7 separate regions of the Homo sapiens genome follow, and all the other regions are linked to region 1. Evidence: promoter capture Hi-C in 16 types of primary human blood cells and fetal thymus (Javierre and others, 2016). All regions are on one chromosome and are shown on one strand. The core of a region is centred on a gene start or on the middle of the fragment in contact, and the rest is flanking DNA. Distances in the headings are between cores, read along the strand shown. Region 1 holds the start of CAHM (colon adenocarcinoma hypermethylated). Region 2 holds the start of ACAT2 (acetyl-CoA acetyltransferase 2). Region 3 overlaps MRPL18 (mitochondrial ribosomal protein L18). Region 4 overlaps WTAP (WT1 associated protein). Region 5 overlaps RNASET2 (ribonuclease T2). Region 6 has its middle 5.1 kb from the start of IGF2R. Region 7 overlaps SOD2 (superoxide dismutase 2).

The links. Contacts are between HindIII fragments. The CHiCAGO score rates a contact against its expected background, and 5 or more counts as called.
Region 2: a contact is called between the fragment with the promoter of ACAT2 here and the fragment with the promoter of CAHM in region 1, in 2 of 17 cell types (fetal thymus and naive CD8 T cells). The highest score is 8.3, in fetal thymus.
Region 3: a fragment that was not itself captured here is called in contact with the fragment with the promoter of CAHM in region 1 in 1 of 17 cell types (fetal thymus); the score reaches 5.7 in fetal thymus.
Region 4: a contact is called between a fragment that was not itself captured here and the fragment with the promoter of CAHM in region 1, in 1 of 17 cell types (fetal thymus). The highest score is 8.0, in fetal thymus.
Region 5: a fragment that was not itself captured here is called in contact with the fragment with the promoter of CAHM in region 1 in 1 of 17 cell types (neutrophils); the score reaches 7.2 in neutrophils.
Region 6: a fragment that was not itself captured here is called in contact with the fragment with the promoter of CAHM in region 1 in 1 of 17 cell types (total CD4 T cells); the score reaches 5.2 in total CD4 T cells.
Region 7: a contact is called between a fragment that was not itself captured here and the fragment with the promoter of CAHM in region 1, in 2 of 17 cell types (fetal thymus and non-activated CD4 T cells). The highest score is 8.0, in fetal thymus.

The regions. Positions count from the first base shown.
Region 1 is chr6:163,412,538-163,416,518 of GRCh38, reverse strand. CAHM (colon adenocarcinoma hypermethylated) reads left to right here and starts at 2,569. Exons shown (of 1, transcript NR_037593.1): 1 at 2,569-3,454. QKI (QKI, KH domain containing RNA binding) reads right to left here and starts at 1,801. Exons shown (of 8, transcript NM_006775.3): 1 at 1,184-1,801. The coding sequence starts at 1,325. LOC124901234 (basic proline-rich protein-like) reads right to left here. Exons shown (of 4, transcript XM_047419614.1): 2 at 2,434-3,905; 3 at 1,851-2,270; 4 at 1,343-1,554. The coding sequence starts at 3,313. The coding sequence ends at 1,343. RefSeq lists silencers at 783-972, 1,173-1,222, 1,473-2,292, 2,383-3,162 and enhancers at 1,243-1,896, 1,897-2,549. The HindIII fragment of the contact is 4,236 bases long and covers 1-3,981 here.
Region 2 is chr6:159,760,392-159,764,082 of GRCh38, reverse strand. ACAT2 (acetyl-CoA acetyltransferase 2) reads right to left here and starts at 2,038. Exons shown (of 9, transcript NM_005891.3): 1 at 1,941-2,038; 2 at 1,030-1,164. The coding sequence starts at 1,995. SOD2-OT1 (SOD2 overlapping transcript 1) reads left to right here and starts at 1,751. Exons shown (of 2, transcript NR_037166.1): 1 at 1,751-2,089; 2 at 2,447-3,691. It also overlaps a transcript of SOD2 not described here. RefSeq lists enhancers at 157-657, 2,726-2,785 and silencers at 2,066-2,215, 2,236-2,295. The HindIII fragment of the contact is 5,525 bases long and covers 1-2,835 here.
Region 3 is chr6:159,790,922-159,794,867 of GRCh38, reverse strand. It overlaps MRPL18 (mitochondrial ribosomal protein L18), which reads right to left. Exons shown (of 4, transcript NM_014161.5): 2 at 3,742-3,928. Among named protein-coding and RNA genes, the nearest start is that of MRPL18, 2.4 kb to the right of the region's middle. The HindIII fragment of the contact is 2,847 bases long and covers 438-3,284 here.
Region 4 is chr6:159,730,983-159,734,586 of GRCh38, reverse strand. The region is part of intron 1 of WTAP (WT1 associated protein); the gene reads right to left. It also overlaps a transcript of SOD2 not described here. Among named protein-coding and RNA genes, the nearest start is that of WTAP, 5.3 kb to the right of the region's middle. RefSeq lists a silencer at 639-899. The HindIII fragment of the contact is 2,491 bases long and covers 178-2,668 here.
Region 5 is chr6:166,942,992-166,946,923 of GRCh38, reverse strand. It overlaps RNASET2 (ribonuclease T2), which reads left to right. Exons shown (of 9, transcript NM_003730.6): 4 at 185-242; 5 at 3,835-3,905. It also overlaps the pseudogene LOC105378119. Among named protein-coding and RNA genes, the nearest start is that of RNASET2, 12 kb to the left of the region's middle. The HindIII fragment of the contact is 5,816 bases long and covers 1-3,932 here.
Region 6 is chr6:159,962,086-159,965,837 of GRCh38, reverse strand. No RefSeq gene overlaps it. Among named protein-coding and RNA genes, the nearest start is that of IGF2R, 5.1 kb to the left of the region's middle. The HindIII fragment of the contact is 1,080 bases long and covers 1,852-2,931 here.
Region 7 is chr6:159,687,638-159,691,566 of GRCh38, reverse strand. It overlaps SOD2 (superoxide dismutase 2), which reads left to right. Exons shown (of 5, transcript NM_000636.4): 3 at 3,325-3,441. Among named protein-coding and RNA genes, the nearest start is that of SOD2, 3.6 kb to the left of the region's middle. The HindIII fragment of the contact is 4,400 bases long and covers 466-3,929 here.

The sequences.
Region 1 (3,981 bases), core at 1,320-3,819:
AAAATCTAAACTCCATTGTTCATCTCTTCAACCTGTAGTTTTCAGTTTCCTTTACACAGTCCTCCGGTGGTGCCTCTAAGCAGGAAAAAAAAACAAACAAACTCCTGGCCAGTCGATTTTCGAAACAGACTTTTTTTGTGGTCTTTTTTTTCTCTAGGCGTCCACAGAAACCCACAGCTACTAGAAATTAATACTTCAGGTACTGCTATGAGAACTTCTTAAGGAAATTCCAAAGTTGGTCAACATTAATCTTCTTGTCATTCTTCACTCCCCACAGCGCTCCATACAGCTTTTTGGAAACTTTGGCTCAATTTTATTTCGCCCTTTCCAAACGTCTCGAAACCCTGTCCTACAAACTCAGGCGGCTGCGTCCCCGGGAGCAAACCCTCCGCCCAAGTTCTTCTAACTCAGGCTGCGCTCCGATCTGTCATCGCGTTATTTCGCACTCCACCCCCCCCCCCCCCACCCCCGAAAAGTGAAGTTCAACTCCCTAACAGTTCTCGCTTCCCCAAACAAAAGGGAAAAAAGTGCTTTTCGCCGTCACTTAGTCCTCCTTGTCGGCTACGCCAGCATAATTTCGGTCTCCTACGGAATTTCTTTAAACTAACGAGCCCCACACTGACTTCCACTTAGTATTGAACAGCTGCACCAACTCCCCAACCACGAAACCCCGCTTTAGTCCTCACGGGAGGGGAGAGCTCCCGAACGCGGGGCGGTGGGGGTCCGCGCAGAGCAGGCTCGGGAGGCCGAGCGGAGGAGCGGGGCCCGCGCCGGGCACACGCGTCCTCCAGGCCGGCGGCGCGGCGTGGGCCTGCTCTCGGGAGGGCTCGGCGAGGACCACCGAGTCCGCGCAGCCCCCGCCGACCTCTCGGAAATGTGACCGCCGAAGCTAGAGGGGCCGCAGGGCTCACCCCGCAGCCCTCCGCAACGCGCCAACTTGGACGCCAGCGGCGCGGGGTCCCGGCCGGGCAGGGGGCGTCCGGCACCGGCGGGTCCACCCCGGCCCGCCCGCCCGCCGCAAGCCCGGCCCGGCACCTCCTTTGTGCGCCCTCCTGGCCTCCCAGTCCCCCCGGCGCTCGGTCCCGCCCGGCCGTGACCTTCCCGCCCTCCCCACCATCCCAAGCGGGGAAAGGGGCCGCCCCGGCGGGGGTCGGGCCGGGGCCGGGGCCCTGGAGACGCTCACCTTCGTCCAGCAGCCGCTCGAGGTGGTTGAAGATCCCGCAGAAGTTGGGCAGGCTGCTCATGAGCTTCTTGTCGTTCATCAGCTGCATCAGGTAATCTGGGGTGGGCTTCGGCTTCTCCTTCGTTTCCATTTCCCCGACCATATTCCAGGCTCCGCAGCTCACTCCGCCCGCCGCCGCCGCCGCCGCCGCCGGAGAGGAGGGAGGGGCGGGGGCGAGCCCCGGCCGCGGGCCGCTCGGGACCCGGCGTCCCGCTCCGCGCCGGCTCCCGCTCTGGCTCCCGCGCCGAGCCCCGGGGCGGCCGGCACCGCGCGCTCGCCCGCCCCCCGCAGGCACTTTCCGCCCGGGCCCGACGCGCTCCCAGCCGCCGCCGCTCTCGGCCGCCCGGCTCGGCGCGTCCCTCACGAGGCCGGCGGGCGGGCGGGAGGCGGGTCTCGGCTGGCCGAGTGCGGGCGCGGGGCGCGGGCTGCTGGCGCCGGACGAGGAGGAGCCGGGGCCGCCGCTCGCTCGGCTGGTCGAGCCCGCTCAGCGCCGCCGCCGCCTGTGCCGCGGGCTCGGGGGGTCTCTCTGGGCTGGTCCCCGCCGCGGCGCCTCTGCCGCTGCCGCCGCGCTCCGACTGCGCTCCTCCTCTTCCTCCTCCTCCTTCTCCTCCTCCTCCTCCTCACTCACTTGGCGGCGGAGTTCGCCTCAGTTCAGGCGGCGCTGCCAGCGGCGGCGGCAGCAGCGGCGGCGGCGGGGGGAGGGGCAGCGGCGCGGGGAGGGCCGGGGGCGGGCGGCGGGCGGGGCCGCGCAGGGCGGCCGTTAGCGGGTCCCGGCCGGCGCGCTCCCGCTGCCTGCTGCCCGCCGCCCCGCGACCGGGGCAGCCGCCGGCGCCGCGCCCCCTCCTCCCTGCCTCCCCGGCGGGGCGGGCGACGGGGGCAACGGGAGTGTGACGGACTGCGGCGCTCGGCGGGCCTGGGCGCAAGGACTGGGTCGCCGCCGTGCGGGGCGCCCGGGGCGGGTGGGTGTGGGCTGCGGGGCCGACGGCCGCGGGGGGGGCGCGGGGCTTTCCACGGCACGGGGCGGGTGGGGCTGCGGGCGCGGTCGGGGCTGGCGCGGCAGGCGAGAGGAATTCCAGCGGGACGCGCCAGCGCTGCCTCCGCCTCGCCTCCCGTTACTATAGTTTTTTCAGAACCTCTTATCCACCCCGCAGAAGAGAAATTTTTTTTTAACGTCCTGTTGCTTCACGGGGGACTTTCGGGGTGGGCATCACGTGGCCCGACACGTAGCCGTGGGGCTCCAGAGCGCGTGCGCGCGTCGAGCCCGGTCGCCACGCCCCTTCCGAGGGTCGCTCCGCCCCCGTCGGGCCCCGCGAGCGCGCGGTGGGGGAGGGGAGGGCCCCGGAGCGCGCCTGCGTGGGGCGGGGGCGGCAGCCGACTAGGGGCTGGGTCTGGCCGTTTAGGGCCGGGTCTTGGCCCGTCGCCCACGGTGCGGAGGGCTGGTGGGCTTTCCTTGGCCGTCGGGCCCGCCACGGCGCGGGTCTTGGCTGCGGGGCGGAGGTGGGGCGGGAGAGCCGAGGATAAGAGTTTGAGGCTTTTCGAGGCGCGTGCCGCGGCGTCCGCCTCTGCGGGACTCTGCGCCGGGCGCCCTCGGCCGGCGCGCCCGGCTCCCGCTTTGTCGCCGAGGGAAGCACGCGCGACGCCCCTCCCGTCGCCGCCGTGGCTTCTTTCGGTGTTCGTGATTTGCTGAGAGGCTGGAAAGCAGCACGGCGGAGAGGAGCCTTGCACTCGCCAGGCGGGAAGCCTGCGCGGACACGCGTGCGCACCCACGGGGCGGCGGGCGGGCGTGGGGGGTCCGGGCCACGCGGGCGACGCGCCTCTAGGGAAGCGATCTTGTTGCACCTTCCCGTTATTCTGAAAGCAAATCGTAGCCAGACCCGAGCGCAGCGGCTTAGCAAATAATAAGGGGAGCGTCAGTCGTGCTCGAAATGCTTCCTTCGCGATGGCGTCAGTGTTCCGTGAGGGAATGAAGCCGCAGTAGGAAATAAAGAGGCTGTGCGCGTAGTCTGAAAAGCAGAAGTCAACATTTTTACAGATGAAGAAAGAATACGGAGGCAAGAGGTCTTTCTCTGCAGTTTGGTGGATTTCCAACATTTAGACTTGTTTGGAAGAATTTCCTCAGCTGCACCAATGAAGTCCTTGATCTATAGAAGTCGGCAGTCCCTAAATCTACGTCTGCATTTTGTTGCAAATCCTTTATAACATTCCATTAAAATAATGCAGAGTTATTTAATATCCAGTTGGCCATCGTGAGAGTAATTCGCGGCTGAGATTTTGTTAATCATTCTGTCTTCTGACTTAACAGTGAACGTAGGTGATTTTTTTTGTAAAATGTTGCTTCACATGAATTGTGAGAATCACCTCTAAGTTTGAATTGTACTGAAGGCACTATAAGAATTTCAAATGAACGCTGAGTAGCCAGTAGCCTTCTGGCCTTTTCGTTTAACAAGCACAGAGTTCGTTTTTAAAATTAAGTTACTTTGACAGAGGAAATGTAATAGCCTTGGTAGACAACATTAAAAATGTAACTGTCAGATGTTTTAAAGTCTCCAACAGCCGTATCTGTTTTAGAGCCATAGAATATTTACTTACTGAATTGCCTGTTTAAAGATGAACTTTCTAAATGCAGGGAATAGTAACTTGCAAAAAAGCTATGGTCTCTAAGTAATGAAGGCTGTTTCAGTACCTAGAAAAATCAAAATCAAGGTTTTGATGCTGCTAGTGTAAAAGATGCAATCCCCTTCTTAATGGCCTGCTTATTT
Region 2 (3,691 bases), core at 789-3,288, 3.7 Mb after region 1:
CCCAGGCTGAATGGAGTGCAGTGGCACAATCTCAGCTCACTGCAAGCTCCGCCTCCCGGGTTCACGCCATTCTCCTGTCTCAGCCTCCCAAGTAGCTGGGAATACAGGCGCCCGCCACCACACCCGGCTAATTTTTTGTATTTTTAGTAGAAACGGGGTTTCACCGTGTCAGCCAGGATGGTCTTGATCTCCTGACCTCATGATCCGCCCACCTCGGCCTCCCAGAGTGCTGGGATTACAGGCGTGAGCCACCGGGCCCGGCCGGCCCTGCTTCGTAAGAATGAAAAGGCAGTGGGCCGCCTGTAGTCCCAGCTACTCGGGAGGCTGAGGCAGGAGAATGGCGTGAAACCGGGAGACGGAGCTTGCAGTGAGCCGAGATCACGCCACTGCACTCCAGCCTGGGCCACAGAGAGAGACTCCGTCTCAAAAAAAAAAAAAAAAAAAAAAAAAAAAGGAAAAGAAAAGGCAGTGTAGGTGGTGTAGGTCAGTGGTCTAAGTTCATTCACAAAAAGCATATTAATGAAGCTAAGTCTTTTTGTTTGTTTAGAGAAGGGGTCTCACTCTGTCACCCATGACGGAGTGCAGTGACACAATCACTGCAGTCTCAAACTCCTGGGCTCAAGTGATCCTCCCACCTCAGCCTCTCCAGTAGCTGGGAGGCACAGGCCATCATACCTGGCTATTTTATTTTTTGTAGAGACGGGGTCTTGCTTTGTTGCCCAGGCTAGTCTCAAACTTCTGGACTCAAGTGATCCTTCCTCCTCCGCCTCCCAAAGTGCTGGGATTACAGGCGGGAGCCACCCTGCCTGGCCAAGAAGCTGAGTCTCAAGCTGGATAGAAGCTACTGACAGGGCTGGAAGAAGGGGGCCAACAGGAGGAATCATAACAGAGGGAACTCTGAGCAAAAGCAAGGAGGCAAGAACTTGAGTGAGTGAGAGAGTGTGTGAGTGTGTGAGAGTGTGTGTGTGTGTGTGTGTTTATGGGCTGTTTCTAATAAGCCTGACTTCTCCTGGAATCACTGAGACTTACCTGCTGCCAAGACATGTCCAAAGATGACCTCAGACACATCTTCCGGAGCCACAGTGGCCCTCTTCAAGACTTCTTTGATGACAGTGGAGCCCAGGTCCTGGACAGGAACAGCAGCTAAGGCACCATTGAAGGAACCTACAATAGAAAGGCGGAGAGCGTGGACATCACAAGCCTGCGGGTAATACGGGAACCACCTACGAGCAGGGGAGCCTCATGACCCTGTTTGGCAAGGCCACGCGAGGAGGCAGTGCCCTCTCCTCCCACACGTTCCTACACCTGCTGGTCTGAGCAAAGGTCAAGGTGGGTGCCACAACTCGCAGCAGCCGAGGGCTGGACAGGCGACCTCCAGAACGGCCTAGGGACGCCGCTGTAGCCCTTCTATTTCCCCAAATCCGAAGGACTGGATGCGACCCCATGCTTCCCAAACAAAAGGAACCGGCGGGTCAAGGGCGTTGAAAACCATGCGGCACGAAGGAGACGAAGTCACGACTTCTAGCCATTGTGTGACAGCCCGACCCCAGCCCAAAGCCGGGCTCAGACCACCTAGCAGTTCCGCCCCTGCCGCAGGCATTACCGATGGCGCCTCCCGGAGCCGGCCAATCAGGGGCCCCGGAGGAGAACACCTCCCTACGCCAACCAATGGGAGAGGCAGGCCACGCGATGGCTCTACCCCGGGAGCCAATCCAAGCACGAGGGACGGAGTGCGCACATCGGGAGAGGAGAGGGTGGGGCTGTAGCACCAGGTCAGGGAACGCGGGAGCCGCAGGGTTCCAGGGATCCCGCGGCTCCTCGCGGCTTGGCCTGACCGGCTTCCTCCACATACGCCCCTCTCCTACACAAGTCCGGCCCTCGGCGCTCCTGCCGAAGCAGCAGGCGCCTCGGACTCTGCGCGGCTCCCGCCGGCCACTCACCTATGATGGTCCGCGCCGCCGAGACGATGACCACAGGATCTGAGCCTGCATTCATCTTGCTTCTCCTGCCGCCGTCTGCCCTGCGCTGCCTGCAAGCTAGGCAAAGCTCCTCCTCGCAGCCCACAGGCCTGCCGCGGGCGGGACCTGAGGTAGCCCCGCCCCTCGCCCTCCACCTCCCCGCGCACCACCTCCCCGCGCATCCCACTGTGCGCAGGCGCAAGGCCGGAGCAGGGGCGGGCGGAGGCGCGCGGGGCGCGGGGCGCGGGGCGCGGGGCGGAAGTGAGGCCGGGGCGCGGGGCGCGGGGCGGAAGTGAGGCCGGGGTCTGGGCTTGCGGGCAGAACCGCGGACCTCGGACGCATTTACAGAGCGCCTGAAACCCCAGTGTTTCTGGACACCCCAATGTTGGAGTTCCCCGACTTGACGTCTTGGGCTTTTTTTTAAAAAATCTTAGGGTTTCTCGAAACAGTAAAGACTGGGGGGTGACAAAGACTTATCTCTCGTTCAGCTCAGGACTGGAATCCCACGGGCGAGAATCTCGAGTGCGAGCCCGGCCCGCGGCGGGTCTCAGCACAGCTCTGATGGGTCCTTTTGCTCTCGGCGGCTTCGGGAGGTCCTATGCGTTTCTCCTGGCGCCAGTCATTCGCTCGCGTGAGGGGCTTGCTAGGAGCGTCTCGGTGCGAGCCCCCTGCCTTCTAAGATCAACTCTGGCTGTGAACGGGTGAGGACGCCGGGAGCGTCTTAGCGTCACAAAAGTTCCTTTGGTTGACGTTTGGACAGTGAAAGGAGCATGTAACAAGTGGGGTCAGTTTTGTTTAAAACCCTTTCTGACTTCCCAGCCTCTTACTGGGCAAAGTTCATAATTTTTCTGAGCTTTCTAGGGTTTCCAGGCAAGCTTATGAGGGGCCACCGTTACAGCAACTTGTTGGGAACACCTGGATAGTGGAACAAGAAAGCTTTGTCACAAAGTCATGAAGGGGAAAACTGTTGACGGACCTGGAGAATCTTCCTGAAGAACTTTAAAGTTGATTGAAAGAATCATTAAATCCTGGAAACCTACATTAAGACTTTGCAGAGATATGCGGATGGGTCAGATAAATCAGAGAAGGTAAAGAGTGTAGGCCCCAGAGGTGGGGCAATAGAGAAGGAAAAAAATTGCATAACAGTGCAATTTCAGGAGAAATCTTTAGGGTCTGGAATAGTGGTGAAATCAGCTGTCTACTCTGCTAAGAACTCAGCAGCACACTGAAGTCTCTTCAGTTGTCTTCAATGTGTTTCCTGTCCCCTAACATATCTGAGTCCAAGGAATTCAAGGAATGCCTCCCGTGGCTTTTGCTCTATTCTATCCCATTTTCCCCTTACTCCCTGGCCACTTCTGAGTCTTTGTGGGCTTACTCTCACATCCCCTTAACATGTTCCCCAAGGCTCCTACTTTGCACCAGCTCCCTGGGTAATACCAGTCATTCCTACGGCATCAATCACCACCTGTATACTGACAAGTCTGAAATCCTTACATCTAACCTCGTCTCCTAAGCTGACTGACCCTCTTCATTTAAATTCTTACAAGCACATCAGGTCGGGCACCTTGGCTCACACCTGTAATCCCAGCACTTTGGGAGGCCGAGGAGGGCGGATCATTTGAGGTCAGCAGTTTGACACCAGCCTGGCCAACATGGTGATATCCCGTTTCTACCATAAAATAGAAAAATTAGCCGGGCGTGGTGCCGTGCGCCTGTAATCCCAGCTACTGGGG
Region 3 (3,946 bases), core at 612-3,111, 3.6 Mb after region 1:
CATATGCTGAACGCTGGTTCCCTGGGTCCCCTTATTTCTTTCTCTATACTTTGTGTCTTTTTCTTTTCCAAGTCTCTCGTTCCACCTAACAAGAAACACCCACAGGTGAGGAGGGGCAACCCACCCCTTCATAACTTAATAGGCAAAGCATTATCCAAACAGACTGTTCACAGAAAAGAAAAATATTAATGACTCAAATTCACAAAAATATGCTCAATCTCACTAACAAAATGCATGGACAAGACAATTCGATGCAACACTGTAATCATAAAAGATAATCACCCTCTAGGAGCGAGTTAAGTAAAATCCATGCAATAGTATTCCATACAGTTACTGAAATGAATGAAATAATGCTTTATAATGATGAAGATAATAGTTAACATTTACTGAGCACTTAGTATATGCCAGGCCTGTCTTAACGGTTTATAGATAAAGCTTATGTCTCAATTCTATTATTTTTTCTATATTTTTTTTTAGCTGCAGAAACTAACACAGAAAGGTTAAGTAACTTGAAAAAGATTAAAACTAGTAAGTAATGGAGCCATGGTTTAAGTCCCAGTGTCTGGCTCCAGAGTCAATGCTCTTAACTACCATGAAGAATCTCCAAGATGTATTTTTAAGTGCGTGCTTGGGGTGGTTGAGGGTGGTGGTGAAGAAAGATGCGGAAGTGTTTATCGTATGCTAAGATTTATTGTTTTTAACAGTTTTTGCTTATATGCATAGACAATCTTTAGAAGGACACACAAGAAACTGTACTCCCTTTGGATTTTATAACATACGTATATGTTACCCTTTAAAAAGTCAAGTTTAAGTTAAAGAAAACACACCCAAATCATTAGATTCTCACTAGGATTCTCAATGTGAAATAGAAGAGGCATTAGATTTGGAAATATGGAGTCTACTCCTGGTTTTCCTGGTGGCTCTAGTAAAAAATCACAATCTCTTTTTTTTTTTTTGAGACGGAGTCTCAGTCTGTTGCCCAGGCTGGAGTGCAGTGGCGCGATCTCGGCTCACTGCAAGCTCCGCCTCCCAGGTTCACGCCACTCTCCTGTCTCAGCCTCCCTAGTAGCTGGGACTACAGGTGCCTGCCACCACGCCTGGCTAATTTTTTTGTGTATTTTTAGTAGAGACGGGGTTTCACCGTGTTAGCCAGGATGGTCTTGATCTCCTGACCTCGTGATCCGCCCGCCTCGACCTCCCAAAGTGCTGGGATTACAAACGTGAGCCACCGCGCCCGGCCAAAAATCACAATCTGTTAAACCAGGAGTCAACAATCTTTTTCCACAAAGTGCCAGATAGTAAATATTTTAGGCTTTCTAGGTCCAATAGCTTCTGTTGAAACTGTTCGACTCAGCCATTGTAGTGCTAGAACAGCCAGGTGATGCGTAAACAAATGAGAGTAGGTACAGCTAGGTTCTAAGAACCTGGGCAACGAAATTTGATTTTCATTTAATTTTCCCAAGCCACAAAATATTCTTTTGATTTTTTTTTTAACTTAAAAAAAGTAAAAACAAGTTTTTAGCTCACAATCTACCTTTGGCCCACGGGCCGTAGTTTGCTGACACTTGAACCATTTGTTCAATGAAGGGCCCGATTCATTATGTCAAAGGTCATTTCCTACTATAATATTCTGAAATTCTCTACTTTTAATATTGCGAGTAAGGCAGACAGAGAAAAAATGAGGAAATACATCTTTAGTTATTTTTAATGATCCAAATATTAAATCAAAGTAATGCGTTGGGGCCGAGTGCAGTGGCTCACGTCTGTAATCCCAGCACCTTGGGAGGCTGAATCAGGCAGATCTCTCGAGCTCAAGAGCTCGAGACCAGCCTGGGCAGCAGCAAAACCCCATCTCTACAAAAAATACCAGAAAAAAAAAAAAAGAAAAAGAAAAAAATTAGCCGGCCATGGTAGTGTGTGCCTGCAGTCCCAGATGCTCAGGAAGCTGAGATGGGAGAATCGTTTGAGCCTGGGAGGCAGAGGTTGCAGCCAGCTGATACTGTACCACTGCACTCCAGCCTGGGTGATAGAGCCAGAGCTTGTCTCAAACAAAACAAAACAAATTAGCTGGGAGTAATGGCATGCGCCTCTAGTCCCAGCCACTCAGGAGGCTGAGGTGGGAAGATTGCTGGAGCCCAGGGAAGTCAAGGATGCAGTAAGCAGATATCATACCACTGCATTCTAGCCTGGGCAACAGACCCAGACCCTGTCTCAAAAACAAAGAAAAAAGAAAGTAATAGGTTGGGTGTTTCAAAAGATTTTTAGCCTTAAGATCCAGATTATTTAAAAAGTGAACTGCCTACTCCCTTTCTTGGACTCCCTCCTCTATGAGTAAAAATGTATTACAGCAACTGTAACACATCATTATCCCCATTCCACTTTCCACTATGAAACTTAAGACTTTTGATGACAGGGATAACATCTACTTTATCTTTGTAACTCCTGCCTCTAACGCAATGCCTAGCAAGTGATACAGGTATGATGCTTGTTCAATAAATAAATAATACATCACACAGTAATGATTTCCAATTTACTCTTACAACTTTACATAGTACTTAAGAAGTCCTTAAGAAATTCTAAAAAATCCTCACCAAGCAGATAAGCAGCAGATAAACCTGATAAACACTTACATGCTGTAGTATAGTGGTAATAACCTAGCGTCCTGGCTCTGAGGTCAGTTAAAACATATGTAAATCTTAGCTCTGGCACTTACTAATCATGTCTCCCTAAACCTCAATTTCTTTGATCCTGTAAAATGGGGGAAATTATAACTGCTTCATGATGTAATTTTAAGGATTAAATGAGAAAAAACATATAAAGCAAGTAGCATAATTCCTGGCAAATGTAAGTGTTCATTAAACAACCACCTTTATAACAAAGTATCTCAAGTCATACTAGACTCCTAACTGGTCTTTCTTCAAGTCCTGCTCCCTCAAAAATTTAATCTTCCAAAAAGCAGCTAAAATGATTTTTTTTTTTTTGAGACAGAATTTTGCTCTGTCGCCCAGGCGCTCAGCTCACTGCAACCTCCGCCTCCTGGGTTCAAGTGATTCTCGTGCCTCAGCCACTGGAGTAGCTGGGATTACAGGCGTGCACCACCACGCCCCTCTAATTTTTATATTTTTAGTAGAGACGGGGTTTCACCATGTTGGCCAGGTTGGTCTCAAACTCCTGACCTCAGATGATCCGGCTTCTTCGGCTGGCTCCCTAAAGTGCTGGGATTACAGGCATGAGACAATGCGCCCAGCCAGAATGATCTTGAAAAACCAATTCGGGCTCAAGCTTTAAATCCTCTCGTAGTTTCCCACTATAATGAAAAGAAAGTCTAAAGTGCTCATCTTGACTTACAAAGCTAATCATCTGTCGCCTCCTTACCCCTCCATGTTCATCTTGGGCCATTCATCCTCTGCCCATTGAGCTTCAGATCCACAAGCCCTTCAGTTCCTCACCCCAGCAGTTTCCTTTGCTAGGACTGCTCTTTCTGGCAGATGACTAGGCTTCTTCCTCTTTCAGATCTCACCTTCTTAAATGTCACCTCAGACAGGCAGGTATCCTGTCCGCTACTGTAACATCCTCTTTAAATAGCCCCCATCACACCTATTTGTTGTTTGTTCCAGCCCCTCCGCGAACCCTGCCTCTACCCGCCGCATGGCAGCTACCTGGGAGAGTGCCTGGAGTTGAATGAATGAAAATAGTCTGTAGGGTGCACTGCCCTTGTCAATCACAAGCAGATTTAATTACCTGTGCCAGAACTCACGGGAGGGAAACACCGTCCGCCAGCCCCGCTCTTTCCTGGCTACAGATAAAAGCTCCAGGTTCCGGGGGTTCCGGTTGGTGAATTCTGGGGCGACAGCTTCATTTTCCACAGGGTCCACTTCAGGTTTCGCTGCCGGCTCGGAGCTGGTTGACAGGGCTGCGAACCTGCACCCTGGGCAACGGGAAAAAC
Region 4 (3,604 bases), core at 174-2,673, 3.7 Mb after region 1:
CTCTCATCTCAGCCTCCCAAGTAGCTAGAACTACCTGTGGAAGGATCACGCCCAGCCCTAGTTATTATTTCTAATAGTATACTCATGAATCTTCCCTTACTTTAAAGTGTTTATGGTTTATTTTAATTACCCATACTTATTATAAATTCTAAACTACTAGAAATTTGACCAAAAGCTTGGTATGTTAAACTGAATTTTTTTTTTTTTTTTTGAGATGGAGTCTCACTCTGTTGCCAGGCTGGAGTGCTGTGGCATCATCTCGAAAGCTACTTGAGGCTGGTGTGGTGGCTCACACTTGTAATCCCAGCACTTTGGGAGGCTGAGGCAGGAGAGCTGCTTGAGCCTAGGAGTTTGAACCGAGCCCGGGCAATGTGGTAAGACCCTGTCTCTCATTAAAACAAACAAACAAAACACACACACACCAAGACTACTTGATTTCTCCCACTTGATTTTGAGATTCCTCAAAAGGAGATAATCTTCCAACAGCATGTTTTATACTACGTACAATCTCAACTCCACTTTATAAATGAAACATTCTAATCATACTGTTATTAAACCCTGGTTTTCAGATTAAGTAAATTGTGTTGAAGAAAGCAGAATTTAGAGGAAAAATCATAAATTGATCTTAGATTACTGGCTTGCTTCTTTCTCTGTTTAATCTTTTTTTTTGGAGATGGAGTTTCGCTCTTGTTGCCCGGGGTGGAGTGCAACGGCGCGATCTCGGCTCACCGCAACCTCCGCCTCCTGGGTTCAAGCAATTCTCCTGCCTCAGCCTCCCAAGTAGCTGGGATTACAGGCATGCGCCACCACGCCCGGCTAACTTCCTTGTATTTTTAGTAGAGACGGGGTTTCTCCATGTTGGTCAGGGTGGTCTGGAAATCCCGACCTCAGGTGATCTGCCCACCTCAGCCTCCCAAGTGCTGGGACTACAGGCATGAGCCAGCGTGCTGGGCTTTTTTTTTTTTTTGAGACAGTCTCGCTCTGTCACCTAGACCACAGTGCAGTGGTGCGATGATGGCTCACTGCAATCTTGACCTCCCAGGCTCAAGTGATCCTCCCACCTCAGCCTCCCGAGTACCTGGGACTACAGGCATGTGCCACCACACCCAGTTAATTTTTTGTAATTTTTTTTGGTAGAGACAGGGTTTCGCCATGCTGCCCAGGCTGGTCTCGAACTCCTGGGCGCAAGCAATCCAACTGCCTTGGCCTCCCAAAGTGCTGGCATTACAGGCGTGAGCCACTGCACCCTGCCTTCCCTCTTTAATCTTTCTCAAGGGATACAGCAAACAGATAAAAACCTCAGTATTTGTTTCTGAGCTAATTGTATACAGTCTGTTTCACTGAGCAAGTCACTCTGTCCTATGAAGACATAAACCATATTACTATGATATAAAATGTATATTATTCTTTTTTTCTTTAAATTGGTTCCTCCCTTGTTGCCCAGTTTATTATCTCTGCTGCCATTACAGAAAGCTGCTTTGTAACTACCTTAACCTGGTGGCAGTCATTTTAATCATCTCAGAAACCATCACCATATTTAACTCCACATGTCTAACTACTTCTATTTTAGCATGACACATGCATTAGGCTGCAAAGTCTTAGAACCCAGATATCAAATCTGGCATTTCCTTGTAATTTCCCATTTGTCTGGAGCTAAATATCAATTTTACACACACACACACACACACACACACACACACTATATATATATACAGAGAGAGAGAGAGAGAGAGAGAAAGAAGCAGACAGAGACACTCCCCCTCCCCCTGCGCCCGGTCTCTGTTGCCCAGGCTGGAGTGCAATGGCGCGATCTCGGCTCACTGCAACCTCCACCGCCTGGATTCAAGCGATTCTCCTGCCTCAGCCTCCAGAGTAGCTGAGATTACAGGTGCCTGCCACCACGCCCGGCTAATTTTTGTATTTTTAGTTTCACCATGTTGACCAGGCTGGTCTCGAACTCCTCACCTCAGGTAATCCACCTGCTTTGGCCTCCCAAAGTGTTGGGATTACAGGTGTAAGCTACTGCGCCCGGCCAATAATATTTTTAATTTAAAAAATCTTAAAGACAATTTTAGCTATTTGAGCTGTACATATTTAACCGGTATATCAGTATCTGTATCTATGTATATACGAACATAAAATTTTGAGAACCAACCAGGAACTTCACGTAACAGGTACTGTGGTAGAGATCTGTGAATGACAGTTTGAAAACAGCTATATTTATCACTATGGCTAGGTGGTATACCTTTTATCTAGTTACTAAGGCATCCTACCTACTCAGTATGTACAACTTTAGTTGTAATACTAAAGTATCATGGATGCTGTTCAATATAAATTCCAGCTTATAAAAGTTATTATAGTTGGTCCTTGACCAACCCAGGTTTTAGCTGCATGGGTCCATTTATATTTGGATTTTTTTCAATCAAACTCAGATTAAAAAATACAGTACTCGGATCAAAAATACAGCATTCACGGGATGCGAAACCTGAGTATGCAAAGGGCAGACTTTTCATACACCAGGGTTCAAATTCCTATGCCAGGATTTTGGCAAGGATCATCGGTATGTGGTTCTACAACCTGATACTTTCCCTAGGTTTACTTGCTTACTCTCTTCTTAAAGACAGGTATCCATATTCTTATTCCACTAAAATAAAATTAACAGTAAGCTTAGCAAAAAATGAGATGATAATCTGTTTTTAAAGGGCATTAAAAGGACTGAGAAACACATGAAGAAAGTTCTGATAACCTTGGTATTCTGAAACAGGTTGTCAACTTTGCAAATACAAAAGTAGCAAAATCTCTGCACCTCAGTTTCCCCATCTCAAAAAGAATTACCACAACCAGGGCCCAAATACTGTGCTATTTCTGAAGACAGACATTAATCTTTAGCATGGTAACTGGCACAAAATGGGCATTTAATTAATAGTTTCTTCTCCCCATCAAAAACACAGACTCAGTGTTTCTTGAAAAACCTGAAGAGATAATCCACAGGTTGAGGATAATAATCATACTGTCCTCCCGACTGTTTCTAACACTTACTGCAGAATTCTTTGGCATCTCCAATATTTAGGATTCTAAACAGAAGTTACTTAAATTTTCTTTTTTTCCTCTCTTTTTTTGAGACAGAGTCTCACTCTGTCGCCCAGGCTGGAGTGCAGTGACTCGATCACAGCTCACTGCAGCCTCCATCTCTTGGGCTCAACTGATCCTCTTGCCTCAGCCTCCTTTGTAGCTGGGATCACAGGCATGAACCACCACGCCCAGCTAATTTGTTTTTTTTTTCTTGGTAGTAGAGATGAGGTCTTGCTATGTTGCCCAGGCTGGTCTTGAACTCCTGGGCTCAGGAATCCTCCTGCTTGGGCCTCCAAAAGTGCTGGGACTACAGTTGTGAGCCACCATGCCCAGCCTGCAATTATTGAAATTTCTTTTCTTTTTTTCTTTTTTTTGAGACGTAGTCTCTCTCTGTTGCCCAGGCTGGAGTGCACGGGCATGATCTGGGCTCACTGCAACCTCCGCCTCCCGGGTTCAAGCGATTCTACTGCCTCAGCCTCCCAAGGAGCTGGAACTACAGGCACGCACCACCATGCCCAGCTAATTTTTGTAT
Region 5 (3,932 bases), core at 1,078-3,577, 3.5 Mb before region 1:
AACTCTGACTCCTCTTACCTGCATCTTCTTTCTTAAGCATCCTGCCTGGGATAAGGAATTCCCAATTAGAATTTCTCTTTTTATTCTTTGCAGACTTCAATGAAAGTGTTTTCTAAGGTCATGTAGAAGCCACCCCAACCAAGCCTAATATTTCTTATTTTCTCTTTTAAATTTGAATTTCCAGGCCCGATAAAAGTGAAGGATGTAATAGATCGTGGCCCTTCAATTTAGAAGAGATTAAGGTATTGACTTTTAATTATATTTCTACTGCAGAGTGTTGACCTAGATTAACTCTTTTCTTCACAAGCGTACCTTCAAAGTCATCTTTAAAATTAAGGGGTCATGAATGTATTCACCAGGATTGAGCCCTTGCTGCTGTTTTAGTAAGTATTGTTATCTCGACCCCACAAATTACACCAATTGACCTTTTCCCTCTCCTCCCCTCCCCTGCCCTGTGCCCAAGCCACTGCATGAGGGGCCTGAGCGAGGGGCTCCGACCGGAGCAAGCCCTGACACTCCCCCATGCCAGACCTGTGCAGATCCTGACGCTCGCCCGCCAGCCCCGCCTCGTCCCAGGCCCCAGGACTTCTGGGTCAGATGACCGACGTGGGAATCTGGTCGGTGTGCCATATCGCCAGGCATCTCCAGACAGCTGAGGCTCAGAGAGCACAGGCCTGGGGCCGTCCTATCTGGTGGATGGGTTTCTGAGCAGGTGGACATGCTGGGCCTTTCCAGTACAAGAGCTTGATTAAAGAAAACTCACAGGGCGGGAATTTATTAGAGATACTAGCAGAGGCGTTCCTTTGAGATACCCGTACCTTATATGTCATACGGAGTCTTCACTCACACACACGCCCTCATCTTTCCTTAGGGGTGCCAACAGTTCCTGTGTGTAACCAGTATATACCAGGGTAACTGGACCTGGACCCCAGGGAGGGGGTGGTAACTGAGGCCTTCTTTAAAACGTGTGGTAGCATTGAAGGCTTGCGGGAGTTGTGGGTCTTTCCTAGGAATGGTACATTCCCCAAGGTCATTAGTTGCAAATCCATCACAAGTTCTTTTTTTCTTTTCTTTTCTTTTTTTTTTTTTTTTTGAGACAGAGTTTTGCTCTTGTTGCCCAGGCTGGAGTGCAGTGGCGCAATCTTGGCTCACTGCAACCTCCACCTCCCGGGTTCAAGCAATTCTCCTGCCTCAGCCTCCTGAGTAGCTGGGATTACAGGCATGCGCCACCATGCCCGGCTTATTTTGTATTTTTAGTAGACATGGGGTTTCCCCATGTTGGTCAGACTGGTCTCGAACTCCTGACCTCAGGTGATCCACCTGCCTCGGCCTCCCAAAGTGCTGGGATTACAGGTGGGAGCCACCGCGCCCAGCCCACAAGTTCTAATCCATATGGAATTGTTTTCTTTTTCCTCCCCGTGAAGACCTTCAGTGGGATGAGCCAAGAGGCTGGGGACTGCCGTGAGACTTAGAAGGGACACCCCAGAGCCTGGTGCTGTCTCTAGCTCCTCACACAGACTCTCCTCCTCTCCTCCGGGACTCACTGCAGGGAATGGTTTCTGGGGAGGCGTGATGAAGAGGCCACTTCAGGATACATTGAGTTTGAAGTGCCCTTGAGACCTCCAGGGGGTGACATAGAGGATCTTCAGGGTCAGAGGAAAGGTGGCTTTAGGCATAGTTAGCATGAGGATGGTGAATCAAAATGACAGGTGTGGGGATGGACATGGGTCTGTGGACATGGATGGGTGAGGAGTCAGGGCCGACAGGTGTGGACGTGGGTGGATGAGGGGGCAGGGCTGACAGGTGTGGACGTGGATGGGTGAGGGCAGGGCTGACAGGTGTGGACGTGGGTGGGTGAGGGCAGGGCTGACAGATGTGGACGTGGGTGGGTGAGGGCAGGGCTGACAGGTGTGGACGTGGGTGGGTGAGGGCAGGGCTGACAGGTGTGGACGTGGGTGGGTGAGGGCAGGGCTGACAGGTGTGGACGTGGGTGGGTGAGGGGGCAGGGCTGACGGATGTGGGTGGGCTAAGGGGACAGCGCTGACAGGTGTGGGCCTGGTGGGCAGAGGGGACAGTGCTGGTGGAGCCCCGTGTTAACAGCCAGGTGGAAAGGGGCATGTGTGCCTGCAGCTGGGAAAGGCGGAAACCCAGGAGTGGAGAGATTTGAGAAGAGGCACCGTAGGACTGCATATCCCCGGGGGGTCCAGGACAGGAAAGCTGAAATGCTTTTTGAGTGGGGGCGTGGGTGGGTCGTGGGTCTGTGGTGGTGTGAGCCGCTGCTCCTCAGAGTAGTCCTGGCTTCCTTGTTGTGTAGCAGTAGGAACACCTTTGCATTGTCCCAAACGGAAGTAGCCCAATTTGCACACTCAATCATATCGTGCCCTAGGACATCTCGGAGAGCTGATGGGGCTGAAGCCAGCATGGTGGGGCAGGAGAGGTGGGGTGGGGGGCTGGAGGGGAAGAGGAGGGGGACAGAGCTGCGCCCACACAGGCAGGGGCTGTGGGGTAGGGGCTGAGTTACAAATGGGCTGAGAAAAGGACCCTCATATAGGGTGCTGGAAAACAGGAGAAAGGGAAGGAAAGTGAAGTTATCCGAAGTTTGTTAAGCACCTTTTTACTGACCTTTTTGGGGTTTTTTTGGTGTAGAGGGTGTGTAGAAATAGAAAAGTAAACTCCAGTTCTGTTGGATTTAGCGCGACTGGTGCCCAGGCTGCCCAGCTCACACAAGCTCTTCTCTGGGAAAAGGAGAGCTTGTCCTTTGTTTGTTTGTTTGTTTTAACTGATGGTTTCGTTTTGTTTTTTTTTAAGATGGAGTCTCACTCTGTCGCCAGGCTGGAGTGCAGTGGCGCAATCTCGGCTCACTGCAACCTCCGACTCCCTGGTTCAAGCGATTCTCCTGCCTCAGCCTCCTGAGTAGCTGGGATTACAGGCATGTGGCACCGTGCCCAGCTAATTTTTGTATTTTTAGTAGAGACAGGGTTTCACCAGGTTGGCCAGGATGGTCTCGATCTCCTGACCTCGTGATCCGCCCGCATCGGCCTCCGAAAGTGCTGGGATTACAGGCGTGAGCCACCGTGCCCGGCCAATGTTTTTAGAACAGTTATAGGTTTACAGAAAAATTGGATGGAGATTACAGACAGTTCACTCCCTTCCCCCTCAACTCTCCCAATCATTAACATCTTCTATAGTGTGTTACATTTGTTACAATTAATGAACTGATACTGATACTTTATTATTAAATAAAGTTTAGCATTAACATTAGGGTTTACTCCTGTGTTGTGCGGCTTTGGACAAATGCAGGAGAGCAAGTCCCACCCAGTGTGCTCTGGAGCAGCCGCTGGCCCTAAACCCCCTGAGCCATACCTCCCCTTCTTCCTCCCCTTGAACCCCCAAGCAACCGCGAATCTCATTCCTGTCTCTTAAGACTACCTTTTCCAAATTGTCACGTCGTTGGAATCATACAGTATGTAGCCTCTGCAGACTGGCTTCTTGCACTTAGCAATGTATGTTTGCAGTTCCTCCAGTGTCTTTTCATGACTCGACGGCTCATTGGTTTTTGTTGCTGAAAATATTCCATTGTTTGGATGTACACTTTATCCCTTCACCTATAACAGCTTGTATTTTCGTGTGCAGTTTTATGATTACTCAAATTGCACTTGTAGATATATCTTAACAAACACTTCATACAAAATAAGCATAGGATTATTTTATTCACCAAAGTATTGTTAATTAGCAGAGCTCAATTCTTTGGTGTCAGTTTATCAAATTTACCTTCTAGGTTTTGAGTTTATTATTAAGAACCTGCGTAGACTTATTTTATTTTTTAATGCATAGGATCTTTTGCCAGAAATGAGGGCATACTGGCCTGACGTAATTCACTCGTTTCCCAATCGCAGCCGCTTCTGGTAAGTCCCAGCCTCTGATTGCTGTCT
Region 6 (3,752 bases), core at 1,142-3,641, 3.5 Mb after region 1:
CAGTCCCCAACCTTTTGGCACCAGGCACCAATTTCGTGGAAGACAATTTTTCCATGGATGGTGGAGGGCTGTTGTGGGGGATGTTTCATCAGGCATCACAAGGACAGTCCACCCTAGACCCCTCTCATGCACAATAGGGTTTGCACCACCACTTATCTGACAGGAGGCGGAGCTCAGCGGTAATGCCCTCGTTCTCCTGCTGTGCGGCCAGGTTCCTAACAGGCCACAGACCAGTACAAGTCCATGGCCCGGAGGGTTGGGGGACTCCTGCTGTAAAGTCAAATACTGCAGGGCATAATTCTCCTGTATTTCATTTAAATTTTCTGAAAAACCTTTGAGGAAGCAGAGACTCACAGATATCAGCCTAAGACCCCCTGTTATAGGCTGAATTGTGTCCCCTAAAAGAATACGTTGAACTCATAACCCCCAGTACTTCAAGTGTGACCTTATTTGAAAATAGGGTCATTCCTTATGGATAAATTATGATGAGGTTATACTAGAGTAGGGTGGGTTCTTAATCCAGTATGACTGGTGTACTTTCAAGAAGTGGGCAAGAAACACACAAGGAGAAGGCAGCCATATGAGAATGGAGGTGCTATGCATCTACAAGCCAAGGAACACCAAGGATTGCCAGCAACACCAGAAGCTGGGACAAAGGCATGGAACAGATTCTCCCCTAGAGCCTTCAGAGGGAGCGTGACCCTGCCAATGCCTTGGTTTTGGACTTCCGGCCTCCAGAACTGTGTGAGACAATTTCTGTCATTTTAAGCCACCCAGAGGTACTTTGTTATGGCAGCCTAAGAACACAAATAGCCAAGAACACAAATGTCCCTCAAATGATAGGACAGATCCAGGCTTGGCATCCAGGTGCTCCAACCACCGCCCTGTTGTGAGGACCCAATCTTCCTGCATCTGACTTTGGAAACACAAGCTCAAATGACAGACCAAGGGCAGAAAGAGCAGCTACTGAGGATGTCCCTGCATGATGTCAAGAGCAATAGCAGGGACAGGTAACACTAATAGCTGCCCCTTTGGAACACAAACCATGAGCTATCAAACTGATGGCATGCACACATTGTTCTGAAACTCAAACAGAATCTCACCCCAAAGATCCAGGAACTTTTTAGAACACCCAGAAAGGAACATGATTCTACCAAAAGACCCTCAAAACACACAGTGATTCATTTTAGGCTTCTTGATTTCTAAGATCATAAACTGCCAAGAAAAAATGTACAGTAAATAATATTGAATCAATGTTAAATTTCATAAGATAAAGCTACTGTGATTACATAGGACGATGTGCTTGTTCTTATGTGATACATGCTGAAAGTGAAGTGTCATGATGTTGGCAACTTTCAAATGATTTCAGGGGAAAAAAAGAATATATGTATGAATAGCAAGCAGAGGTTAAAAATATTAACAGTCACAAATGTAGTGAAGAATATATCAGTGCTCTTGTACTATTCTTTCAACTTTTCTATAGGTTTGACATTTTTCAAAATGAGAATTGGGAAAGAGATCTCATCATGAAAGAGATTGCTTTTGAGTGAATCTGGAAGAATGGGGGAAATTTAGGGAAAGGACATTGTAGGCACAAAGAACAGCAAGTGCAAGGCCATGGTAAAATACAGAAGCTGTATTTGCTGTACAAGGCCTTTTGCTTAAGCAAAAGTCACATGGGAATAAAGAAAAACTACTTTTGGCCAAAAACTGTGCTAGATCCTGGGCTCATAAAATATAATCCCTCCCTCAAGGAGCTCGCAGTTTAGGACGTAGTCAATTTTTATATAAGTTTGAAAATTTTTATTGTGCCCAGCTCCTAGAGGATCTTAAATGGTCATCTAATAAGCTTAGATTTGGCTGGATATGAAGTAGGGAACAATAACAGCAGATACAATAATACATACTGAAGGCTCACTGTCAATACCATTCCTGTATTATATCATTTACTGTTAATACCAATCCCACCAAATAGGTAATTTTATTACCCTCCTTGAAAAGATGAGCAATTCAGTCATAAAGAAATTATATACCTTGCCCAAGGTCATGCAGTTGGTAAGTGACAGCGCTTGGATGTGAGCTGTATGATCTGGGACCAAAGCCCATGCAGTTAACTCATCAACTGCCTCCTCATTGAGAGATTTGGAGAAAGAGAGATGTTCACGGTGACACATCAGGAAAATCCATCTGGTTTTAAGATAGACTGGAAGCTAATTTATTAAAAGTATCACAATTAAGGTGACAAATTCGACAGCAGAAAGCCTTGTGTCCTTCAAAAACACCCAGTTCCCAGTTAGTTAACACCTGGCCAGGTAACTATCAAAGATAATGCCCTAAGGCTTTGGCATGGGAATTTAGAGGGGAATAGGGTTAGAGGCATGAGGCAGGTGTGGTTGGCTGCCTTCCTGCAGGCATCTCATGCCCTTGATTGCTGGCAAAGCCCACCTCCACCAGAGGCTGTGGGTGTGAGATTCTCACTTCCCAGACATTCTTACAGCCAGAGCAAGGGCGTATGACCCAGTCCTGATGATGGAACTCGATGGGAAGTCTCCTGAGATCTTCTGCAAAATGCTTTCTCTCCAATAAAAAGAGTTGCAAAACAGAAATCCCTTCCCCTTTTGTGTTTTTTTGTTGTCTGGATGCAGTAATTTCTATATGAAACTGCTGTCCCCTCATAACTGTGAGGGAAAATGTGGCCAACACAGTGGGAACAAGACGGAAGACATCAGGATCCTGAATGACACTGGTCCACTTCACCAAAACTCTTGTATCCGATCTTTTGTTTTGTGATAGAATAAATAAATATGCCTAAGCCAAGTGCATGTGTTATTAATGTATTGCCTCTCTGCTTTGAATGCATCTTCTAGTATATGCTCTGTGATAAAGGAATCCATTTAAGCAGTTCTCCTTTCAACTAAATGACATTAAGCTTTCTGAGCAGAGGACACTGGAGGCAAACTGCAGAAGAGATTCTCCTGCTGTTCCCAGGACATCCATACCATGAGGTGCTGACCACCTGCTCCCCAACTTGCATACTAGTGCAGGCCAGCTCCAGCCTGGCCAGTCTGCTATCCAATAAATGGAAACAAACCTTTTCCCATGAAATCTGAATGCCTTCAGATCTGAAGGCTTGTCATTCCTTGAGTCCTCTCCGTCAGCCTGAGGGACTATGTAGAGTTTTCTTACATCTTACAGTTACTCCTTCATCATAGTTAGTAATTATTTATATTAAGACTCCCCTGTTTCTACCTCCTGATTGGCCCCAAAATGCCACACCATGATTAGCTAACTTTTGTATTTCTTGCAGCCAAAATCATACCAACTGACCCAATGCAGCACTTAGCAACCTGTTGGGTAGGACAGACAGGAAAGAAAGAGTCAATGATGATCAACGCTTGTAGACAGGTAGATTGGTTCCAGAGAACAGAGAAAACAGAAGAGAAATGAATCTGAGGAGCAAGACGCTAAGTATCTTTTTGTGCAATAGCAAGTCTAGGTATTCAGAGGTGACCACTAGACAACTGGTAATGCAACACTGAACACAGGCAGGAAGCCTGCATTGAATGTAATTATGGGGAGGCACTTGCAAAGATGGGAGAGTTGACTTGGGAGGAAGGTGATGAGAAGGATAACAAGACATTGGCATAGTGAAAGAAATTGCCAGGGAGAGAACAAAAGAGAAAATAGGCTCTTAGTATTAACTGTCTATCAGTGTGTAATAAATTACCCTCAAATCCAGTGGTGTAACACAA
Region 7 (3,929 bases), core at 1,416-3,915, 3.7 Mb after region 1:
CATGTTTTTTAGACTCTCTGTATTGCTTGGTAAGCTACGTAGTAAAAAATGTTTACTTTTCCTTAAATGTTTTGAATTTCGGGGTTATGAAATTTGTTGAGTAATTTTTAGACAGTCACATCTTGTTGACTGGAGGCATCTAGTGGAAAAATGCAGTATTTCAGCCTGATTGTGTTTGAAGTAAATGATTAAAAGAGGAGGAAGTTACCACATTCTGGAAGATTTACTTGAGACAGACGAACCTTGAATTACGGGAAAAGGCCCCGTGATTTAGGAAATAACAAATTTGGGAAACATGTAATGGGGAGAGACTGGGGAATACCCCAGTTGTGAAAGTACTTCCTGTAAGGCAACATCTGACACCAGGAACCTTTCTCTTCAGTATTTTAAAAACAACTTAATTTCAGTCCTTTACTTGTGGAATCAGAGCCTTACTTATGTAATACAACCCACTGGAAAAAAGCTTTTTATTGTATTGTACTATATTGTTTATAAGTGATTGAGTACCTGCAGAGCTTTCTTTTACTTAAACATATTTTAAAAATTATTAAAAAGATTTTCATGTTTGAAAACTTGGGGAAAAAAGATAAAACAATGTCATAATCTCATCACATTTAACTGACTAATATGAATATTTTTCAACAAAAAGCATTTGACTTTTATTATTATTTGAGGCAAAAACTAAACTGAAACCAAATAAAATGTTGAATTTCAGAAAAGTGTTCTTAAAAGCAGATATTAAGCCCTCAATTTTTATTAATTTTAAAATGAGTAAGCAAACTGTAAGATGTTAAGATTATTAAATTATCTCTCATTAAGCATGTATCTTTCCCATTTTAAAAATTCAGTTACTATTGATTTATTAAAAAACAATAGAAAAGTTACATCTATTTTTAGAGTGACTCTCAAGAAAATTTAATAAGGGAAACACAGATCTATAAAAAACTGTTTGTAAACCTAACAAAGGAAAAAAAAAGTTGGTGTCTTTAAAAAACCCTTTGAGATTAGCTGTGTATTCAGATATCAGTTGGTTCTCTCCTTTCTGAATCGCTAAACAACTGGAGCTTGTTTCAGAAAGCAGCATTGTCTACGTATGTTCCTTTTAAAAATTTTTTTTTTAATTCTGTCTAAAAAAAACAGACGGGGTCACACTATGTTGCCCAGGCTGCTCTTGAATTCCTGGGCTCCCCTATCCACGCACCTCGGCCTTCCAGAGTGCTGGGATTACAGGTGTGAGCCACCGTGCCTAGTCAGACATACTTTTTTTTTTTTTTTTTTTTTTGACGGAATCTCAGTCTGTCCCGCAGGTTGGAGTGCAGTGATGTGATCTCGGCTCACTACAACCTCCGTCTCCTGGGTTCAAGCAATTCTCCTGCCTCAGCCTCCTGAGTAGCTGGGATTACAGGCGTACGCCACCACGCCTGGCTACTTTTTGTGGGTTTTTTAGTAGAGACAGGGTTTTTCCATGTCGTCCAGGCTGGTCTGGAACTCCTGACCTCAAGTGATCCGCCCATCTCAGCCTCCCAAAGTGCTGGGATTACAGGCGTGAGCCACCTCACCTGGCCTTGTATGTATGTTTTTTTCTTTCTCTTTCTTTTTTTTTTTCTGTGACGGAGTATTGCCCTGTCGCCCAGGCTGGAGTGCAGTGGCGTGTTCTTGGTTCACTGCAACCTCTGCCTCCTGGGTTCAAGCCATTCTCCTGCCTCATGCTCCTGAGTAGCTGGGATTATAGGCACGCGCCACCATACCTGGCTAATTTCTGTATTTTTAGTGAAGACAGGGTTTCACCATGTTGGCCAGGCCGGTCTTGAAATCCTGACCTGAAGAGAGCTGCCCGCCTCGGCTTCCCAAAGTGCTGAGATTACAGGCGTGAGCCACCGCACCCGGCCCAGACATATGTTCTTAACGTACACTTTCAGAACAGCAGTTGAGAACTTTTTCCAAAATGTAAGCTCCTTGAGAGCAAAGCTCTCAGTGGGTCTCTGTGTCCTTTACTTTGCTTCTCTTGGTATCTTGTGGATAATATGCACAAAATATTTATTAAACAAGAGGATTTCCATTTTTTTCTAATATTAATAGTTCATTTAGTCTGTAGCTTCTTGAAGGCATAGAAAAGACTATTTTATTTTGCCTACTTATTTGGCAAGGTACCCATGCAGTATGCCAGGAGTTACAGGGCCTATTGAGAAGGAGTAAAGGGTCTGGGAGGGGTGGCAGGGAGTTGCTAATTCATGTATGGTGGCTAGAGAAGGCTTCACTGATGGGGTTGATGTTTCAGTGGAGACTTGAAGGAGGAACAGGAACGCAGCATGAGACTGTCTTGGGGAAGAGTGTTCAGCAGAGGCAGCAGTGCTCAGCTAGCCTTGAGGGGAACATCCAAGTTGGTCATGTGAGTGCAAAAAGGCCAGTGAGGCTGCAGCTGCGTGAGCACGTGCTCAATGACGGGGTCAAGTGCAGCGCCTCTTGGTAGTAAGAGTAGCTGAGTGTAAACACCTAGGGTTCGCTCCAGTGAGAAGGGGAGCCTTTGGAGGGGGCAAGGCCCACCCCCACCCCCCAAAACTGAGGGGATAGTGGCACCAGTGCAGTGAGAAATACTGGTCCTCTGTCCCAATGAGGTGGCAGTAGAGTTAGGGAGAAGGGATTAGGTTCTGCTTGTGTTTTATTTTTTTCTTTTATTTTTCTCTGTGTGCTTTTATATAGATTGGATGTATTTTAAAGGTAGAGCTGGCTTTGCTAATGGATATGCTGGTGGATTGGATGTGGGGTGAAGGGAGAGGAGTCAAAAATGACATCAGGTTCCCAAGGATGTCCTGAGGGACAGAGCTGGCATTTACTGAGACGTGGAGGACAATAGGAGGAGTAAGTTTGGGGTAGAACATCAGGAGTTCAATTTTGAGTATGTTGAGTTTCTTGTTAATGTGACTTGGAGATATTTCCCAATGAATCGTCGTCTGTCTTGAAAGTGAGAGTTGAAGGTTTTCTGTACAGTCTGTATGTTGAGCCATACATTTTAGCATTCTATTATTTTGATTGTCCTCTTTGGTGTTTCATTTCCTAAAATCTCTTCTATCTAAGAGATCCCTGAGCCTAGCAGCCAGGAGTGAATTTTCTAGCTTTTCCACCTCTGCTAGGTCCTTCATCAGTTGTTCAGCATGTCTGGGACAAATAATTTTGGGGCGGGGGGGTGCTGAATTTTAGGACAAACGGATGTTATAGATAAGCTGGTCCCATTATCTAATAGCTTACAAAGAAAAAAATATAATGTATACAGTGGTTGAAAAAGTAGGAGTTACAAAAAAATGTGTTTGCATTTTAACTTTTCAGGAGATGTTACAGCCCAGATAGCTCTTCAGCCTGCACTGAAGTTCAATGGTGGTGGTCATATCAATCATAGCATTTTCTGGACAAACCTCAGCCCTAACGGTGGTGGAGAACCCAAAGGTTGGTATATATTGGTGCACCCTTATCTACATTTTGTGCACAGTAGGAATCGATTGTTGATTTACTGAAGTTACCTTATACTTGTTTTTTGTTTTTTTTGTTGTTGTTTTTTTGAGACAAGAGTTTTGCTCTTGTTGCCCAGGCTGGAGTACAGTGGCGCAGTCTTGGCTCACTGCAACCTCCGCTTCCTGGGTTCAAGTGATTCTCCTGCCTCAGCCTCCCAAGTAGCTGGGATTACAGGCGCCCGCCACCACGCCTGGCTAATTTTTGCATTTTTAGTAGAGATGAGGTTTCATTCACCATGTTGGCCAGGCTGGTCTTGAACTCCTGACCTCATGATCTGCCCACCTTGGCCTCCCAAAGTGCTGGGATTACAGGCATGAGCCACCGTGCCTGGCCTAAGTTACCTTATTCTTACCAGAGGTATCATAGTGGCATATTTTTCATAACAACGAGTATGATAAAAGTTGTAACTTTCAAAAGGACAC